Linked DNA regions of Homo sapiens: regions 1, 3, 4, 5, 6 and 7 are each linked to region 2. The links are contacts of gene promoters, found by promoter capture Hi-C in blood cells and fetal thymus (Javierre and others, 2016). All regions are on one chromosome and are shown on one strand. The core of a region is centred on a gene start or on the middle of the fragment in contact, and the rest is flanking DNA. Distances in the headings are between cores, read along the strand shown. Region 1 has its middle 200 kb from the start of GRASLND. Region 2 holds the start of ID2 (inhibitor of DNA binding 2). Region 3 overlaps LOC101929452 (a long non-coding RNA gene). Region 4 has its middle 320 kb from the start of LINC01871. Region 5 has its middle 180 kb from the start of GRASLND. Region 6 has its middle 130 kb from the start of GRASLND. Region 7 overlaps RNF144A (ring finger protein 144A).

Region 1 (2,700 bases), core at 20-2,519, 1.6 Mb after region 2:
ATCCCATTCCCCAGATTATGCCCAGCGTAGCTGACACATGGACTGTGCTCAGTGTCTGTTGTTTATCCAAAAATAAATAAATAAAAATGGTTGTATGTTAAATTCAATTGTTTATTAAGGCCATAGAAAATCTTAGAAATTGGAACCCCCACTTACTTCTGAAAGCAGTAGTCACAAGAGAAAATAAAAAAAGAAAGGCTAATTAGACTCCCAGACAGAGCATGCACTCCAGCCCAAGTGCTCCACCCTGAGTAGTGAAACAACACTCCTCTGTCCAGGCGGGATACCAGGTGTTGACAAGATGGAGAAATTGAACCAGAGTCTCTAGATTTAGAGGTAGCTGGTAAAGAAGAGAGAAAAGATAAAGTATGAGGCTGAAGACACAGGAAATAAATAAGTCATCATAACAAAGAGGAAGTCTTCCCAACCTCCTTCTTTCCTTGGGTCTCAGCACACCCCAGGCAGGCGATGAGAGAATTGTTCTGGAGAATGGAAGAGCCCAACATGTAAGATACAGTCCTAGGGCACCATCCTGTCTATCCCAAGCAACATGACTCTAAGTGAAGCTTGCCAATTAATAAGCCACACATACACATAGACCTTCCAATCAGCTTTTTAGTATTTGAGTTTTTAAGCAGAAAACCAAGCAGCACTAGCCATTTGAGGAAAGCCTCCAACATGAAAGACAAATCAAAATGTAAGAGCAGAGAAAAAGAAAATGGAGGCAATACAATAAGTAGAAAAACAACTTTTAAAAATAGATTTAATATCCCCAAGGAGATAAGATACTGTATTCATGAAACAAGAACAGAATGCTATGAAAATCAAACAATAAGAGAACCAAAGAGCTCTATATTAAAATAGAGTTTTTATAGAAATTAAAACTATAATAGATAAAATTTAAAACACAAGGAAAGGGCTGGAAGCTAAGTTTGAGAAACCCTCCTGGAAATTCAAAAACTATAGAAGATGAGAAATAAAAGGTAACAAAATAAAAAAATTAGTATGAAAAAAATCAAAGATCTCAAAATTAAGAATTCCAGAAAGTGCAAACAAAGTAAATTAAAGAGAATTATTAAATAAATGATCTAAGAAAATCTCTCAGAAGCAAAGTATTTTTATTTTCTATTGAATAACTGTGATGGGCTGAATAATAGCCGTTGAATGGTATCTGGGTCCTAATTCCTAAAACATGGAAATGTTAATTTTTTGAAAAAAAAAAAAAAGATTTTTGAAGATGTAATTAAGTTAAGAATCTTGAGATGAGGCAGTTTTCCTGGATTATCCAGATGAGCCCTAAATGCAGTCACTTGTATGTTTGTAAGAGGGAGGTAGAGGAAGATTTGACATACAGAGAGAAAGTGGCCATGTGACCATAGAGGCAGAGATTGGTGTGATGTAGCCACAAGCCAAAGAATGCTGTCAGCAAACAGAAACTGAAAGAAGCAAGGACAGATCCTCCCTTGGAGCTCTTGAGACAGCCCTGACAACACCTGGATTTCCATACAGCAATATGATTTCAGAATATTGGCCTTCAGGACTGCGAGACAATAAATTTCTTTGTTTTAGGCCAGTCTGTGATAATTTTTGCAGCCACAAAATAAGAATGATTAAAGTGAATAATAAAAGAATCATAGAGCTATATATTAAAATAGAGTTTTTAATTATGGAAATTAAAACCATAATAGACAAAATTTAAAACTCAAGAAAAGGGCTGAAAGCTAAGTCTGAAAAAAAATCTCCTGGAAATTTGAACACTATAAAACTATTAAAACTGTAGAAGAGGGAAAACAGGAAAAGGTAAGATAATAAAAAGGTTACTTGAAAAAAATTAAAGACCTCAAAAATAATAATTCCAGAAAGTGCTTTACTCAATAAATGAAAGAAAAGAAAGAAAAAAAAATCCAGAGCAAGAAACATTACAGCAAAATTTCAGAATATTAGAAGTTAAGATAAGAGACTAAAAGCTTTCAGAGGAGAAGCAAGTGTCTCCAAAGGAACAAGACTCAGATAGGAACCAAATTTATCGAACCTAAAAATGATTACTACAATACAATGCAGCAATATCTGCAGAATCTAACATTCTGAGATTGAAGCCATTTCTGATCTAGAATTATATATCCAAGCAAACCAAAATATTAGCCCCAAGTAAGTTTATGTTTTTCATGCAATGTGTCACTAGATTTACCACCTCTGCCAAAGTTCTCAATAAGAGACCAAAAGATTTGCTCCAACGGCTGAAGGAGGAGACTCCAAACAAAAGAGGAAGTCATTACATTTAGAAAACAGGAATACCAAAATATTTGTGACGTAAAATAATTTTACAGGATATTGGTAAAGTCCCAGTTGACACCAATGCCACAGACCCAGTGAGGAGCTGTCCGTGTTCCAGCAGATGGAAGGTCTCAGAACGGTGTCTCAAAATACAGCAATGAGATCAATATATTTTCTATGGAGTTGACTACATTGAATGGGATTCTAAAATTCATTTCAAAAAGAATCATTGCTGGGTACACAAGAAAAAATCATTCTTTAAATGAAAAATATACATGAAGAGCGTGTGGTTTGACCTTTAAATTCTCATCTTCCATAGTAGAAGTCAATAGAGAAGTCTTAATTTAAAAAAAAAGGAATAATCATATTGTTTAGAAATCGGATGTTTTATACCAGATTGCTAAAAGGGTTTGAATTAGTTGTCTC
Region 2 (2,700 bases), core at 63-2,562:
GTCTGGGATCCCACATCACAGGGTTGAAGGCACAGGGTAGCAATCCTCAACTAGCCCAGAGAATCCCAGAGGACTATAGTTTTAGGGAAGGAGGATCACTATGGAATTTGTGGCGGTAAGATTAATTACAGTGGAGGTTAGTACCTCATAGTACCAGAGGACTCGTAGGAAGATCCAGGGCATTACATTTGCTACAAAGCCAATACACACGTTCCTCGGCCGCCTTCGTAGTAAGTTATTGGCATCATTTCCTTTTAAAGGAAAATGTTCTGTGATCTCGAGCACCCAAAGCTACAAGCTCCTTCATGTCTAGTGAGACAATGTAGTACGGGTAACACCGCGAAGTAAGCATGCATTTACCAAATCAGACATTTTATAGATACACAAGCAAAAACACATGCGCGCGCGCGCACACACACCGAGGGGCAGTTTACCCACGGGTGGCACAAGCAAACACTCACCGCTTATTCAGCCACACAGTGCTTTGCTGTCATTTGACATTAACTCAGAAGGGAATTCAGAAGCCTGGAAAGAAAGAGGATAAAGAGTACGAGGTTAAGACAATGTTAAGTAGAAAGGGTTTTTTTTTTTTTTTTTTTTTTTTTGTAGTCCACAGACCAGCAAGTTCCATTAAACACGTTTATGGTAACAATTCAGATTTAAAGACAGACGCATTAACATGTCAGAACTTACTAGCAATTTCACGCACAGCTCAATCTACAGCAGATTCTGAAGAAAATAAAGTTAAATAGCTCATACGAAAGTCACCGTCTGGGCTACGGATCTCCTAGTGACAGCCCAGACGACCGCGGGAGTGTGCGGCGGCGGGGCGGGGACCCCGGAGCAGGTCTTACCTGCAAGGACAGGATGCTGATATCCGTGTTGAGGGTGGTCAGCGGCGTCCTGGACGCCTGGTTCTGCCCGGGTCTCTGGTGATGCAGGCTGACAATAGTGGGATGCGAGTCCAGGGCGATCTGCAGGTCCAAGATGTAGTCGATGACGTGCTGCAGGATTTCCATCTTGCTCACCTTCTTGTTCTGGGGGATGCTGGGCACCAGCTCCTTGAGCTTGGAGTAGCAGTCGTTCATGTTGTATAGCAGGCTCATCGGGTCGTCCACAGGGGTTTTGCTCCGGGAGATGCCCAGGCTGTGGTCCGACAGGCTGTTTTTCCTAACGGACCTCACGGGACTGAAGGCTTTCATGCTGACCGCGAGGGAAGGCGAGACCGGGAGGGAGCTGGCTGCCCTGAAGCTCAGGCCGCCGCTGCCGCCTGCTGAGCTAGCTGCGCTTGGCACCGGGCTCGGCTCAGAATGAAGCCCGAGCCCGGCGGGGCGGCTTTTATCCGCACTCGCCGGGGCCACACGCTGGAGCTTCCCTTCGTCCCCATTGGCGGAAGGTGGCACGTCTATCAAGACGAGCGGGCGCTTCCATTGGTGGGCGCGGGCGCGGGGCGTGGGCTTGGTTCTTCCGCGTTCGCAGCCAATCCCCGCGGGGTGGGCGGGGCGCGAGCCCAGCTGGGGTGGTAAATAGAGTACAGTACAGTAAGTGCGGGGCTGGCGGGGGGCGGGGGGCGGGGAGCGGCGGGCGGGGGGCGGGGAGGAGGGAGGCGGGAGGAGGGAGAGGAGGAGGGAGGAGGAAGAGAAGGGAAGATGGGGGAGGGGAAGGGGGAGGGGAAGGGGGAGGGGAAGGAGGAGGGAGAAGGGGGCAGACCCTGGGCGCCTAAATATGCATTCTTAATTCTAATTCCAAGCGCGCGGCGGGACCCTTGCCCTGGGGGTGTTCCCAGACCAAGCCCTACACACCTTAGAGCTGTCGGCAGCTCTAAAATCACAGCTACACGGGCGAGTTCAGCACCGCAGGGGGGAAGCCACAGTTCACTGCAACCCATCGGAGGGAGAGCGTGAGGAAAGATAGAAAGCATTTCAGAAGAAAGTGAAAACGCAAATTAGGTTGTCACTGAAGAGTCACGTTTGTAGAGTGAGTTCGTCTCTTCAGATAAGGAAAAGTTATGTTAACACAAACAAACCACCCACGCACGCATTCGACGACAGGCTTAGTGTGGGCTTTTGCAACCCGGAGCAGCGCGGGAGGCATTACTGTAAACTCAAGAAAATGAGTACTTATTGCAAACCATGCCCAACCTCACCGGTCGCTAAGGAGCTCTCACAGGCAGGGCGCTTTCAGGGTTCCTTTTCAAGAAGGAGGCAGGGCTATTATAATGATCGTATTAATCGGAAATAATTAGGAGAATTTGCATATTGAAACTACATTTACATACACTGCCCTTGAAAGGCTGCCGGTCTGTGCCCTTCCGTGTAGGTGGCAAAGTAATGTGATTAATTATGCACTAATTGTGATTTCTGGTGTCACATTCCAACACCTAGAGGAGTTCCAAAGCTTTGTGACAGATAGGTGGCCCTAGCCATTGATAGACATCTTCACACTAAGGAAAAAAAAATATTCTGTCATATGAGGTTTGGAATCTTTTCAGCACTAGTACTGAATACGGGTTCAAGGTTTTTTTTTTTTTTTTTGGCTGAAAATCTTTTAAGAACTCGTTCTTTCAGTCTAAGTTTTAAAAAGTTTGCAGCTATTTACTTAAATACCTTAATTTTCACATAATTGTAGCTTATCTAGAATTCTGTTTTGACCACAGTGTGTCAGTTTCTTGTTTTTGAAAATATTTGCTCCAGAAAACAA
Region 3 (2,700 bases), core at 100-2,599, 1.6 Mb after region 2:
CCCCTTGGGTCCTAGACTCGTAATGGCCATCTCCACATTATCTGTGACTTTGCTTTGATGGCATCCTCCAAGATCATTCTCTCTTAGAACTTGAAATCTCAGTCCCCGTCTCTATCTGCCATCTCTCATTGTTCTACTTCTGTTTCCTCACTCATACCCAGCTGCTTCCGTTATGCTCAGCAAAACCCCCAGCCCTTGGGCTGGCATCTTCAGCCTGGCTTTTGTCTGACTCGGATTCGCCAGTGCAGTCTGACATTTTGAAATGCTCTTCCTCTCCTCTGATGTCCTCAACCTGGATGAACATATCAATGCTCAAAATCACTGCTATCACCCTCTCTTTCTGCTTCTTCTGCTTATTGTTTCTGTTAGCAGCACCATCCTCTCGGCCAGAGGGATCTGAAGCTCAACCCACTCTTGATTCTTCTTTCTTCTATAATGCCCAAAAGCCAATCATTAGATCCTACCACCATTTTCACTATAAAGTTTCACGGTGCCACTACCCAAATGAATTACTCTGTATTAATCTTATCTTTAAAATGTGTTATAAACAACCCACCTCTTACAGATGACACTCAGATTCAGTATTATGGAGAATGCATTTCTCTAAGATGGCATCACCCTGTTAAAGAAAACCTTACTCACTGATACTTGTTAAAGCACAGAAAAGCTTACTCAATGATACTTGTGTAAATCACATCACAATAGAGGGACCACTGCAAAGGGATTTTGCAACAGGGAAGAGAGATTGAGCCCAACTCGGAGCACAGCACTGGTAAGTGGGAATTTATATCCAAGGAGCAGGGTGGGGACCACTAGATAGAAAATTACTAAGAGGAGATATCGGGGTGAGGGTGCAGGGATTCTGGCTACAGAAATCTAACAGGATTCTTGCTGAAAACAGGCCAGGTGATCAGACATCACCTGGGGATGATGGACAATGAGAAACTTGGTCATATATTGAAAATACTGAGTCAGATATCAAGGGTGGGGGAGTTCTTGATAAACTGACTTAGCAGCGTTCTTAGCCCAAAATGGACTTTACAAGGAAGTACACAGGTAGACATAGGAGAAGCTTCAGGTGACTGGCTACAGTTTGGCCAAGCAAGGAGTTTTTGTTAGTCCTTCCTCTTGTTCAAGGAAAGGAGAGACATTCTTCTTTCTTTTGAACGCTGTAACTCCATTTTCTCATGTGGTCACCTTTTGTTCACTAAGAACCCACTGAGTCACCTGTTGGGACTTGATAGTTCCAACATACTGGATGGTGCAAGCAGTCAGGCATTTAATGAGGGGATTTTTTTAATAGTCGGAAACTCAGTTTCTGAGCCCAGAGGGCAGCCAATCAAAAAGATTTCTAAACACTGAGCTTGAAGCCTCTTCAAGTGGTGTGGGAGCAGGCAGTGGCAAGTTGATAGACCTTCCTGGTTTTCAGTTTTAACACCACGAAGGTTGTCTACCCCTGAGCTATTGTGGTGATCTCTCTGATGTCTGTATCAAGTCCTCCAGCTTCAGCTTTTGGGGCTCCAGGAAAGGAGCAGTTTTAATTTTAATGACTCCAAGTCAGAAGGGTTGGAGAAAATTGGAAATATTAGTCTGGAGTGTGGTTGCCAGATTTTGGAGGAAGCTTGGAGAATTCAGGATCCAGTCCAGTGTGTAGACAAATCAGAAAACCACAAAAACAATGAGCAAGGCTAAAATTCAATAAGAGGTGTGCTATAGTTTTCTTCTGAAACATAATTTCTCTCTCTCCATTTACCCCCATTCCTACCAAAAATAAGCAAAGACTGATTTGCTTGCAAAATAAGTTTAGTCTCATTAACTTGGCCTGATTATTTATATAAACGCAGCAAAAATAATGATTGACCACCTAGGCTCTTTTTGAGTTTGCTTTCCTGGAACTTTTAGGGGAATCTCAGACTAAACAGTTAAAAGCCTTTTAAAACTAGAAAGCGAAGCCAAGGACTTGCTCTCAGGCTGTTTCTGAAATACTTAGGGATTTGAGTGAATATCCCTTTTATAGGTCTCCAAAATATCCTGGGGTTCCTAGGCCTGCCAGGAAGTGACACTCTTTATTCACCCGGAAGAAAACTATGTAAGTGAACCAAGTATGCAACACAACATGGCGATAATTTTTTTCCAAGAGGCTTTATTGACTCCATAAAGTCAACCTTAGTTTCTTAAAGTCGTCATATCTGAAGATACAACATTCCAGTTAAGGCCTTCATAATATATCCAGTGTTTTCAATTGTGTACTGTTACAAGGAAAACATATTCTTACTGCACATATGCAAATAACTACATTATCATAAAATAAAAATGTTTACTAATAGTTTTCTAATTCCAGAGGGATCGGGTAGGAGGCAAAAGTAATTATTTCTTCTTTATTCACAAAGAAATACATTACCAAATTGTTCTAAGCTATAGATAGCTTAAGATAAAAGAGAAAAACTTGACCGGGCATGGTGGCTGACGCCTGTAATCCCAGCACTTTGGGAGGCTGAGGTGGGCAGATCACGAGGTCAGGAGATCAAGACCATCCTGGCTAACACGGTGAAACCCCGTCTCTGCTAAAAATACAAAAAATTAGCTGGGCGTGATAGTGGGCGCCTGTAGTCCCAGCTACTCGGGAGGCTGAGGCAGGAGAATGGCGTAAACCCAGGAGGCGGAGCTTGTAGTGAGCCGAGATCCGGCCACTGAACTCCA
Region 4 (2,745 bases), core at 235-2,734, 1.3 Mb after region 2:
TTAATTTTGCCTGCTATTCTGCAGTGAGAGAGACTTTCAGAAATATTCAATACTTTCTATCCTGGTACTAGGAAAATGAGGATATAGAAATTTCATTCGAATGAACTTTCCAGGGATTTATAGCCTCTGGAGTTACTATAGTAAGTGTGTATCTTCTGATGAGTAATCCACAGGAAAATCACTGGGCTGAAGAGTTCAGTGCTTGAATATTGTGTCTGAAATTACAACAAAATTTAAAGAACTCTTTGAAAAATCTTGTAGAGGATTTATCAATAGTAATGCAAATTCAACTTTTGATAAAAGACAGAGCTCTCAACAAACATGATAAAAATGAGCCAAAGGTACCCAAGCCAGCTGACATTTGTTTATGATGGAAGGATTAAGTTTAATTCACTTTTGTTCTTAAATGTTCACATTTACAACAACCAAAATAACATGTATTTAACTAATGTATAATTTGAAAAAGCTTTCATATAGTATGTTAAATGTAAATGTCTATTACCTCATTTGATATAACACATGTACTTTAAGAAGTTCTTGTAAACTAATATTTAGTGAATTAATCAGTGGTTTACTTCTTCATTCTGGGGCCAGTGTGGGTCTTCAATTGAGTGTTAGGTGATAAGGAAATGCATGCTGCACACAGAGCTCAAGGATCTCATTATCACACACTTCGTATTGCTAGATGTGTTGCTTTGGGAAGGCCGTGACCTTCTCTCTGGGACTCAGTTTCCTTGCCTTATGGAACAAAGGAGCCAGTGCAGGCTGACATTTAGGCCCTCGGGAGCTTCCTCAGGATGAAATGACCCATTGGGTCTCCCATGTGGTGAGCCTCGGTTAGCAGAAGCCAGGGCTTGCTACCCAGGGCATTAACTACACATAGTGGTCTCCATCAGTGGAAGAGTGAGCGCAAAGGCCTTCATCCTCCAAGATGGCCTGCATACACATGGATGTCCCCAAGTTCAGTGGCACCACCGTTAGTCTAGTGCTGTGCCCTTGAGCCGGGCAGGCCCTTCAGCTTCCCAAGCCTTCATTTCCCATCTGCCCAGTGGAGATAAGAACACCTGCCAGGGCTGTGCATCCTGTGAAATACGTGAGATGATGTGTGTCAATCCAGGGCACAGGACTTGGCCCCTAGCACCAGCTTGGAAAATGAAAATTCTTCCATTCAGGGTCCCAGGGGGTAGAAAGTAAGAAAATATAACAATAAAGGAGGGAGGGGGAAGGAAAGATAGATTGCCATTCTTTAAATAAAATCAGGGAGCGAGGTGTGAGAAAAATAGAGAAAGGCAGAGAGTATGAGAGAGAGGAATAGCTACAGGCACTTGGAATAGTGCTGCAAGATTCTCATAAGTAAAAGCTTCTCTTAAAATATTGGAGTTCCTCCATATGGGAAGCTTGGGGAGAGAAGAGAAAAAATTAAATTAAAGCATTTGAAAGTATATTATAGTTTTATCTCTTTGGCTCTGCGATTTCAGAAATAATATAATCCTATGGAAAACATGCTGCCAGAGGATTTTGTATAGTGGCGCCCCGACAGGATGGGACTGAATGATGTCAAAAAAGCTTATATAACAGTTTTGTTTTATTCATTTACATAAATCACATTTACCGTAGGTGTTTTATTCAAAATAAAGTTTGGGAAAAATAAATTGAACAGATGAACCTAGGCAAACCTGGTGATTTTTTCATGAGTAGTGTTTGATGATAAAGGCATAAAAGCATAATGTGGTATCATTTCACCAAGGCACAATATGGATCACCCATATGGAGCAGAAGTTGATAATACTGCAAAGAAGCAAAAATAAACAGAACAGATGTACTTGTAAAATCAAGTCTGCACCCACCCCTGAGTACCTGCCTTGTACTGGAGAAGTTTCTACTAAAACTCCAAACTGGCTTCAAGTCCCCTTCCCACAGAGACGCTTGGGAAGCCAGAGATGAAATCTCATATGACCAAACAGAAATGAGAAAAGGTTTTCTAAAGCAGCAAGCTCCCAAGAAAGACTGAACCAGAGCCTGCTGGATCCCCCAAAGAAAGCCGACCACTGACAATGCCTCAGTTGTCAGGATCAGAAGGCATGGGTTCCAATCCCGACTCCTCCTAGCTGAGTCTTGGAGAAATCTTCAAATTTCTAAGCATTGGTTCATCAAAGGTGAAGTCTCAGAGGTGTTACCTACTTCACAGGGATATTGTCAAGCTTAAATGAGAAATGCAGGGAGGAAAAAAAAAATGCAACGCCAAAAGCACCAGACAGACCGAATTCGGTCTACATGGTTTTGTTCCAGGCCTTTTCTGAGGGAAATGCCAAAGAGGATGTGATATAAAGTGTTCTTGTTTTAACAAAGAGGTAAGGTCTTTGGGAAGTCTAGGTTTATTGTCTGATAAAGATTCTATGTAGAATCATAATATTCCTGAGAGTATGTCAGCCTTAGACTATTCGTAATATTAGTAACATGTACATAAAACTTTATAATTTCCAAGGCAGTTTCTCAAATGGATTTTCTTCTGACCCCACCTAACCCTGTAAGGTGGGCAATGCGGGGAATAATCCCCATTCAACAGATGAGCAGACTGTCACTCAGAGAGGGACTTGGGACAGCCAGGACTGGAGCCCACGTGTTTCACGACGCCATGCCGCTTGTCACTCACACATTCACAGACGCTTTTATCGTAGGAGAGGATTTTACATCTCATCAGCCATGAAATATTGAGCCTATGTCTGAAGGCTTGGCTGTCTTGCA
Region 5 (2,700 bases), core at 27-2,526, 1.6 Mb after region 2:
GGGACGCAAGACCCCGGAGGCATGCCAACATATAAAACCCCAAGTCAAAGGGTCAAACCCTGCACTAGTCCTTCAAGTCTCCTGCTTGGCCCTCTTCCAAGTGTACTTTCCTTCTTTTCATTCCTGCTCTAAAGCTTTTTAAGAAACCTCCACTCCTGCTCAGAAACTTGCCTCAGTCTCTCCCTTGCCTAATGCTCCTCAGATGAGTTCTTTCTTCCGAGGAGGCAAGGAATGAGGTTGCTGCAGACTGGTCCGGAGTTGCTGCTGCTAACATACTTTGGTGCCCTGTGACTCAGAGACCTTCCGCTGCTAACAAAACCTGGCCCCAGTCTGTGCCTCCTAAATGGCTTACCCCAGGGTCCTTTTGCTAAACCACCATGCCTCTCTCTAGGGTCGGTTCAAAGCCACCTCCCTCCTTCTCCTTGGAGGAAAGCTTGTCCTCCCCGGCCTTTTCCAGCCCTGTGCCCCATTCTGGGGACTCCATGCCTAGTACCTGGCCCCTTTCCTGCCTCATCATCCTGCTAATCTCTGAGATCCTACAGGGAAGTATCTTATTTATTCCTCAGAACAGGGAACACAGTGCCTGAAACATCAGAAGCTTCCCATCCAATGTCTCAATATTTGCTAAGTAAATGCTGAGGCTTTTACCAGCTAAAAATTCAAAGGTTTTCAATCGTTGGATGTCTTTCACGGGAAAAAGTGATGGTGAAGAGCCAGGATCTGCCGCTCACTTAAAATTCACCACGTGGGCCGGGCACGGTGGCTCACGCCTGTAATCCCGGCACTTTGGGAGGCTGAGATGGGTGGATCACTTGAGGTCAGGCGGTCAAGACATGCCTGGCAAACATGGTGAAACCCTGTCTCTACTAAAAATACAAAAATTAGCTGGGCATGGTGGCACATGCCTGTGATCCCAGCTACTCAGGTGGCTGAGGCGGGAGAATCACTTGGACTCAGGAGGCGGAGGTTGCAGTGAGACAAGATCGTGCCACTGCACTCCAGCCTGGGTGACAGAGCAACACTTTGTCTCAAAAAAAAAAAAATTACCACTTGGACTTAGGAGACGCTTCCTCCTGAGCCCTGTGTATGAGGTGACCAGCTGCCCCCAGATATTCTACTGCCCCGTCTGGGGAATCTACTGACCGGCACAGAAGAGGCACCAAACACCTGCTCATACCCGGGAAGGATAAGGCAGCATGAAGCGAAGTTCTATTTGACAGGCCCTGCCACCCCCAGGACAGCCTTAATAGTGTGTGTCCCTGAGCAATGTTTCCCCCCCAGCCTCCTCTCCCTGCAGCAGGGCCCTGCCCTCCCTCCTCACAGGGTTTCTTTGCTCATTGAGCTTGTCTCCTCTTTGCCCCACCCAAATGCACTCATCTCCATCCATGAAACTAAATGCTTTCACATGGAAAAATTCAGATAGGTCTCAAAGTATAAACTAATCTTCCCAGAGCTATGTTGCCAACCCAGGTGTCTCCCCTGAAGCCTAGAATCTGAGTCAACTGGTCACTTTTCCACTTGGATATTCTGCAGCACCTTGAACTCCCTGGGGCAAACCTACACTTGCCAGTTTCCTGCTCCCTTAAAATACGCTCCATCTTCTGAGTCCTGCACACCAAGTGGAGGCCCCACCATCGTCCAGGTGCCCAGGACAGAAATGTGGGATTCATCATCAGTTAGTCACTATGTCCCACTGATTCTGCCTTCTAAGTGTATCCTGAAAGAACACACTTCCTTCCGTCACACAACCCCCTACTCAGGCCACTGGTATCTGCTCTGGATTATTGCTCAGCATCTATGTTAGTGTCACCGGCAGCGAATCCGTATCTTACGGGTCTGCAGCAACCTCAATTCTTGCCTCCTCAGAAGAAAGAATTCAACTGAGGGGCATAAGGCAGAAGGAGAGAACAAGGCAAGTTTTAGAGCAGGAGTGAAAGTTGATTAAAAAGCTTTAGAGCAGGAACACAAGGAAGGAAAGTACACTTGGAAGAGGCCCAAGCAGGTAACTTGAAGGACAAGTGCAGGGTTTGACCTTTTGACTTGGGCTTGTATATGTTGGCATGCTTCCGGGGTCTTGTGTCCCTTCTCCCGATTCATCCCTTGGGGCGGGCTGTCTGCACGCACAGTGGCCTGCCAGCAGTTGGGAGTGGAGCGTGTGCTATGTGTTTCCTGGAGCTGTATGCATGCTTATTTGAGGCATTCTTTCCTTACCAGACTAGCATTCCTACAGGAAGGTCATACAACAGTTAAACTCCATCACTTTGCCTCTTAATGCACATGCTTGAGCTCACTCGCCCACTTCCTGAGATCTTATTGGGAAGCTGCTGATCACCAGTTTTAGGTGTTTTCTTTTTATTTGGAGACGGCCTTTCCCTGGTGCCAGCTGTGACCAATTATTACTTTAGCGAGACACTTTACAACCGCCTGACCGTCACCTGACCGTCACCAGACACTCCTGGTGTGTGGGTGGGGAGCCCTCCCCTGCCCTGCTCATGCCTGACTAGCTACCTACTGTAACATTAGGACACGGCAGATGCAGTGATCAGAACCCTCAAGCCGCTGAGGTGAGCTTGTTGGACCCCCGTTCCAGAGACAGTGAGAGTTCCAAGCTCTCCCCCACATTTCCCTCCTGCAAATTTCTCTCAGCTGTGGTGGTCCTTCTTTTTCAGATTCACCTTGCGTTTCCCTCCATGCCACTCC
Region 6 (2,755 bases), core at 200-2,699, 1.6 Mb after region 2:
GAAGAAAGGAAAAAGGTTTCTCATCATCTCAGCCTTTTCTCATGTTTGCCACGGCCAGCGTTTTGTTTTTTTTCTGGTTCAGAATCAAGGTGAGGTGATGCCAAGGTATAAACCACCTGCTTTCTGAGTGACACCACGGACTGTTAACTTATGAGTTCCTCTCTCCAGGGCACAGCTACAGAGGCAATAGGGCATTTTGGAGGTATTTATGTTACTTCCAATTAGGCATTCTAATTAAGATGGACTAAGGGAGGAGTAATATGAGTGAGAATTGGGCATACCTGGGTGAGGGTGTCCTTGGGTTATTCTGAATACTGGGGGATTCATTGATACTCTTGGAAGTCAGCACTAAGCTCAGGAAGATCCCATGAGGTTGAAGCAGCCAGACCAGACCGGAGTGGAGCAGCCAGGGCAGAACATCTTCATCTGGGAGCCACACTCTTGGATTCAAGCGATTCTCCTGCCTCAGCCTCCCAAGTAGCTGGGATTACAGGCACCCACCGCCATGCCCAGCTAATTTTTGTATCTTTAGTAGAGATGACATTTCACCATGTTGGCCAGGCTGGTCTCAAACTCCTGATCTCAGGTCATCCACCCGCCTTGGCCTCCCAAAGTGCTGGGATTACAGGCGTGAGCCACTGTGCCTGCCCTCAACTGTCTTTTTACTGATACTTGTTACTTTCCACTCCACAGGCTGGGCATAGACCCCCATCTCCTCTTCGCTGCTCCTTTTGGCGGCTTCCTAACCTCATGTCCTGGCCCTCATCCTCTGCATCCAAGCTCCCCTACATGCAGCTACCGTGGCGTAGGCAAATCCCATATCTTATTGTGTCAGCACCAACCTTAACCTGAAATCCTCCAGCCTGGCTTAAACCTTAAAAAGTGCATCCCCTCTGTCCCTTACCGCTCTACCCCGTCCACCTGCTCCACCTCCAATCCCCTCACCCTACTGGAGCTCAGCTCTGCACTGAAGGTTTGCCAAGCTCTCTTGGGGCGTCTGCGGCTTTACTTGCATGGGTGTGTTTGTGTGGTGGCATTCCCTCCCAATCTGTGCTCTGAGCAACCCCCTGCTCTCTCCATCCCCGACCCCAATTCCGTCTCCTCCAGAAATTTGCTCTGACTTCTCCTGCAGGGGGTGGAGCTCCTCTCTGCTACCACCTGTGGAGTGTGATCATCACCTTCCGGCCTGCCGCACTAGACTGTGATGTCTCCGTGCATTTGCATTGGTCTGTGTGGTGTGGTACCAAGGCACTGATGAAGAAAAGGGAGGATCTAAACTTCAGTCCAAGCCCTGCCAGGAACTAGCTTCAAGACTGCACCCGAGGCATTCTGCCTCACTGAGCTTCTCCTTGTTTATAAATATAGACGGGGTCTGAGTGGTCCTGACAGCACTGGGATTCCAGCACTTCCTCCCTTGGGAGCTCCCGTTCCCTTCGACATTCCCCTCCAATGCTGGTATACAGAGTCCTAAGTCTTCCCCATGGAGGCCAGTGAGGGAGCCAAGAATCTGCTTGTCTTTCAAAAGACTGTTGCTCTCCATTCCCTTAAAGGTATATGAGAGAATTTATGCTACTGAAATATAGGCAACGGTGAAGAATTTGGATTTAACGACACAGGAAGCAGAAGGCTCTCAATGGTTTTCAACAGAAGCATCACAAGATGGAAACAGAGAATGCCCCAGGAACAGAATGGTGAGAAGGGAGGAGGCTGGGAGCAGAAGATACTTTAGGAGGCCCCAGGTGTGTCCACGAGAGACTGAAGAGGACCTGCATTAGTCTGTTCTCACTCTGCTAATAAAGACATACCCAAGGCTGAGGCATTTATAAGGAAAAAAGGTTTAACTGACTCACAGTTCCACATGGCTGGGGAGGACCCACAATCATGGCAGAAGGTGAAGGAGGAGCAAAGTCATGTCTTACTTGGCGGCAGGCAAGAGAGCTTGCGTAGGGGAACTCCCATTTATAAAACCATAAGATCTCCTGAGACTTATTCACTACCACGAGAACAATATGGGGAAACCACCACCATGGTTCAATTATCTCCACCTGGCGCCACCCTGGACGTGTGGGGATTGTTATAATTCAAAGTGAGATTTGGGTGGGGACACAGCCAAACCATATCAGGACCCGAACTGAGGACAGGGAACCAGGTCCTACTCACTCGTGAATTCATCTCCTGGGAAAGGCAAACAGTTCTTCCTTCAAAGTCATGACCAGCTTCCAACGTGCAACCAAATGAAACTTGGTATCGAATGCATTTTCGACTGAAAAAGCCGAGGAGATTGTGCTTTTTCTTATGACTTTCATCACACATCCTGCCCCTGGCGTTTCCAAAAGCCGTTGCATTTGGACTGCTTTCCCTCCTAAGCCTGTGTTAGCCTCGCCTTCTGAGCTTCCCACAGTACACATTTTTTGCAGGTGCATTTGCTTGTATTTGCAAGACAGAAGCTCACTTTGTTGGAACTTTCTTTCCTCGGTCCCTCTTCATCGTCTTCATCTCCTAATTGGTGTTTGTAATAACTCCCAGCTTAGTATCATCTGCAAGTTTCATTAATATGTTGATTCCTCCTTTGTCATTAATAAAAACATTAAATTATTATTTAACATTCATTGTGCACCAACAATGTATTAAGAGTTGTGCAGAAATGAGAAAAAGATCCACTCTGACTGCAACCTCATTTTCGTGTCGTTGAAAACTCAAATCGCTGAGCACAGTTGAATTTTTGTCATCTTCATCCTTTGTGGATTCCAAGAGA
Region 7 (2,700 bases), core at 201-2,700, 1.8 Mb after region 2:
TATCCTTATCTGCAGGCCTCTGGGTTCAAAGCCAGGCTTCAAAATTGACGACGTGTGTGCGATGTTGGACAACATCCCTGCTCTCTGCTTCACTCTGCTCCTCTGTCAGCTAGGGATAGCAACATACGCCTGTGCTGCAGGGCTGTGTGAGAACTGCATCCACGATGCAAGCAAAGCCCTGAAGATCAGGCAAATCCATAATGAGTATCAACCACCTCCTCCACCTCTAGTGCCAAACACACCTGAGATGATAAAATACTGGTTGACACACTGCATGCCACCAAGGAGCTTGCTTTTGTCTGGAACACTGCATCCAGCTTATAAGCCTGCTCCTTAGAGAAAGCCTGCCTTCCAGTTCTACGGAACATCCAGGAAGTAAGCACCTTTAAATTCAGGTCTTGGGTTATTTGTGGAGTGAAGCAAGGTGAAGGCTCCTATCAGCAATGAGCCACCCTCCTCAAAGCTTCATTTCTCACCATTTCACTTTGGAAAAAATCCACTCTTCTGAAAGTTAAAATATTTTCTCTTGGGAAACAAACAAACCCTTACGAATGGTTGTACTTGGTGAGTCGTCCTGTAATATTTATTCTCCTGGAAAAAAAATATGATCCAACAGTACATTTTTATTTCTGGATCTTGGAAAATATTTACACCAACACCTCAGTTTTATCCTCAAAAAACTGGAGCCATCCAGGGAGGTTAAGACGCTGGCCCAGGGCCAGACAGCTGGGTCAGGAAATTGTAATAAGCTCTATCCTTCAGCCCCACTACCCAGCAGGTATGTGAGCAGTGGCTTCAATTTAATTTCTTCATCTAACTAAGAAAGGGTATTCATGTGTTTCAGTAATGCAGAAACAACGGAGAAAGGAGGCTAGTCTTGGAAATGATTACTTCTTAAAGAAAAGAAAGGCACCTCCAACTTCATTCTTCGATCTCAATGTTAGAAAATTCCCCAGAGAAAACACGGAGAGTCCCTCTTCCTTAGAAGCACTCCATTCCATTCCCCGCCTCTGGGCTGCCTCTGAGATCCCACATCCTGTGAAGCCAGGGGTTCCTTGCTCTAAGAGAGTCTGAGGGCTCAATATCATCCTGAATGGTTCCAGACCACCCAACGTGCAGGGCAGCGAGCACGGCTTCATCCTCTTCTATTGCAAGTGAGGTATGGGAAAAAAGGGACAGCAGACAGAACCAGAAAAGCTGATGCCAGGGCTGGACCAGCCACAGCTTTTCATGTGGCCTGGGCTACCTGACCCCTCCTTTCCAAGCTACGAGGTTCCCATGGTTACAACAAGGGTTCATAGGCCAGGTGGGTGCTGGCCCACCTGGTTCTGTGATTGTCAGTCTCCAAGGGCAGGCTTCCTTCCCATCTCTACCCCCAGAGGGAAAGGCTTCCAGGAGGGAGAAATGTGAACAAAAGTAGGCAGTGGGGCCACGTGGTGGACCACAGGGGAAAGAATGTTCTCAGAGGCAGGCAACGTAGCTTGTAGCTCCCAACCCTGCCGCCGCCTGCCAGAGTGGCACTTCTACCCCTGAACCTCAGCAGCTTCAGCCAAACAGTGTGAGGTCCCTTCAAAGTCCCAAACCACACTGAATCCCCAGGAGACGTGACTTACTCTAGCAACAGTCTGGATACAGGGATTACCAACTAGCAAGCTGAGGGCACTGGAATCTATTTATAAAATATATGCATTTTACAATGCTCTTTGAGTTTCCCAAATCCTCATGGCACAGATGACCTGGGGGTGCCTGCATCGTGCATTTGAGTTTGCCCTTCATTAGTTCCTCTTCCAGAGTTGCTGACATTAGAATCGGGAGCTCTTTAAAAACACAAACTGCAAAAATCAAATTGCACTGGGTCTGGAAAATTTCCATCCCATTAAAATTGGGTTATTTGCACCCATTTTCTCATGAGGTCCTCAATCCATCCACAGCCTTTGATGCCTGATGCAGGTGGAAGCCCACAGCCAGTGGGGGTCTGACTCGGAAGCCACAGTAAGGCACACCACACCATGCCTTCCCTTCCACGCAACACCGCGGAAATCACTCTAAAGCAGGGCTCAGATCACCCTCCTCCTCCAAAACCATCAATGGCTCCCACTGACACAGAGTCAAACCCAAAGTCTTGGCCTAGAATTCAAAGATTTCATGATTTATCCTCTTCTGACCCCTCTAGTCACATTTCCTTTGCACGCTTTAAAAATAAAAACAAAAATGTAAAAGGCATTAGAAAAGTGCAAAAAACAAGGTTCCCTAATCTCAGTACCGGAGAAGAGAATACAATAAAAAAGGCTGTTGTCTCCTTTGGAGCCACTGGGTGAATCCCCTGGGAAAGTTCACGGTGTCACACACCTTGTCCCTCCCCCTTCCTGCGCTGGAGCAGCTCTCTCTGGACAGAGGCCCTTCCTGCCACCTCTGACCTGCCCCACCTGCAAGCTTTGACTCAGACACCCCCTCCCTTGCAAAGGGGACTCCCTTTGCAGGGACACCCTGACTCCCTCCCTTCCCTCCTGGGGGCTCCCACAGCTCCACAGGCGTCTACACCAACTTACTTTCTACCTGGCATTTCATTTACAAATCCATCTTATCTGCCAGGCTCAACTCTCAACCCCAGCCCCATTCACTGGGGCATGTCCTCCTTCCATCTCCCAGGCCCCATTACGGGAAGTGTTTTCTTCCCAGGCTCTTAGTGCAGGAGCTAGA

Evidence for each region. The method cuts DNA at HindIII sites, captures the fragments that hold promoters and counts their contacts. A CHiCAGO score of 5 or more calls a contact.
Region 1: a contact is called between a fragment that was not itself captured here and the fragment with the promoter of ID2 in region 2, in 2 of 17 cell types (total B cells and naive B cells). The highest score is 6.8, in total B cells.
Region 3: a fragment that was not itself captured here is called in contact with the fragment with the promoter of ID2 in region 2 in 1 of 17 cell types (total B cells); the score reaches 9.4 in total B cells.
Region 4: a contact is called between a fragment that was not itself captured here and the fragment with the promoter of ID2 in region 2, in 1 of 17 cell types (total B cells). The highest score is 7.9, in total B cells.
Region 5: a fragment that was not itself captured here is called in contact with the fragment with the promoter of ID2 in region 2 in 6 of 17 cell types (total B cells, naive B cells, naive CD4 T cells and 3 more); the score reaches 16.9 in total B cells.
Region 6: a contact is called between a fragment that was not itself captured here and the fragment with the promoter of ID2 in region 2, in 1 of 17 cell types (total B cells). The highest score is 8.4, in total B cells.
Region 7: a contact is called between a fragment that was not itself captured here and the fragment with the promoter of ID2 in region 2, in 1 of 17 cell types (naive CD4 T cells). The highest score is 5.1, in naive CD4 T cells.

Annotation. Positions count from the first base shown.
Region 1 is chr2:7,112,791-7,115,490 of GRCh38, reverse strand. No RefSeq gene overlaps it. Among named protein-coding and RNA genes, the nearest start is that of GRASLND, 200 kb to the right of the region's middle. The HindIII fragment of the contact is 1,401 bases long and covers 569-1,969 here.
Region 2 is chr2:8,680,668-8,683,367 of GRCh38, reverse strand. It overlaps ID2 (inhibitor of DNA binding 2), which reads right to left and starts at 1,312. Exons shown (of 3, transcript NM_002166.5): 1 at 855-1,312; 2 at 462-525. The coding sequence starts at 1,202. The coding sequence ends at 469. ID2-AS1 (ID2 antisense RNA 1) reads left to right here and starts at 1,505. Exons shown (of 4, transcript NR_110154.1): 1 at 1,505-1,541. RefSeq lists enhancers at 1,073-1,122, 1,610-2,113. The HindIII fragment of the contact is 3,638 bases long and covers 1-2,399 here.
Region 3 is chr2:7,066,135-7,068,834 of GRCh38, reverse strand. The region is part of intron 2 of LOC101929452 (a long non-coding RNA gene); the gene reads left to right. It also overlaps a transcript of RNF144A not described here. Among named protein-coding and RNA genes, the nearest start is that of GRASLND, 150 kb to the right of the region's middle. The HindIII fragment of the contact is 549 bases long and covers 1,075-1,623 here.
Region 4 is chr2:7,407,118-7,409,862 of GRCh38, reverse strand. No RefSeq gene overlaps it. Among named protein-coding and RNA genes, the nearest start is that of LINC01871, 320 kb to the left of the region's middle. The HindIII fragment of the contact is 169 bases long and covers 1,400-1,568 here.
Region 5 is chr2:7,094,060-7,096,759 of GRCh38, reverse strand. No RefSeq gene overlaps it. Among named protein-coding and RNA genes, the nearest start is that of GRASLND, 180 kb to the right of the region's middle. The HindIII fragment of the contact is 1,351 bases long and covers 601-1,951 here.
Region 6 is chr2:7,049,502-7,052,256 of GRCh38, reverse strand. It overlaps a transcript of RNF144A not described here. Among named protein-coding and RNA genes, the nearest start is that of GRASLND, 130 kb to the right of the region's middle. The HindIII fragment of the contact is 7,501 bases long and covers 1-2,755 here.
Region 7 is chr2:6,918,912-6,921,611 of GRCh38, reverse strand. The region is part of intron 1 of RNF144A (ring finger protein 144A); the gene reads right to left. Among named protein-coding and RNA genes, the nearest start is that of GRASLND, 1.6 kb to the right of the region's middle. The HindIII fragment of the contact is 1,970 bases long and covers 466-2,435 here.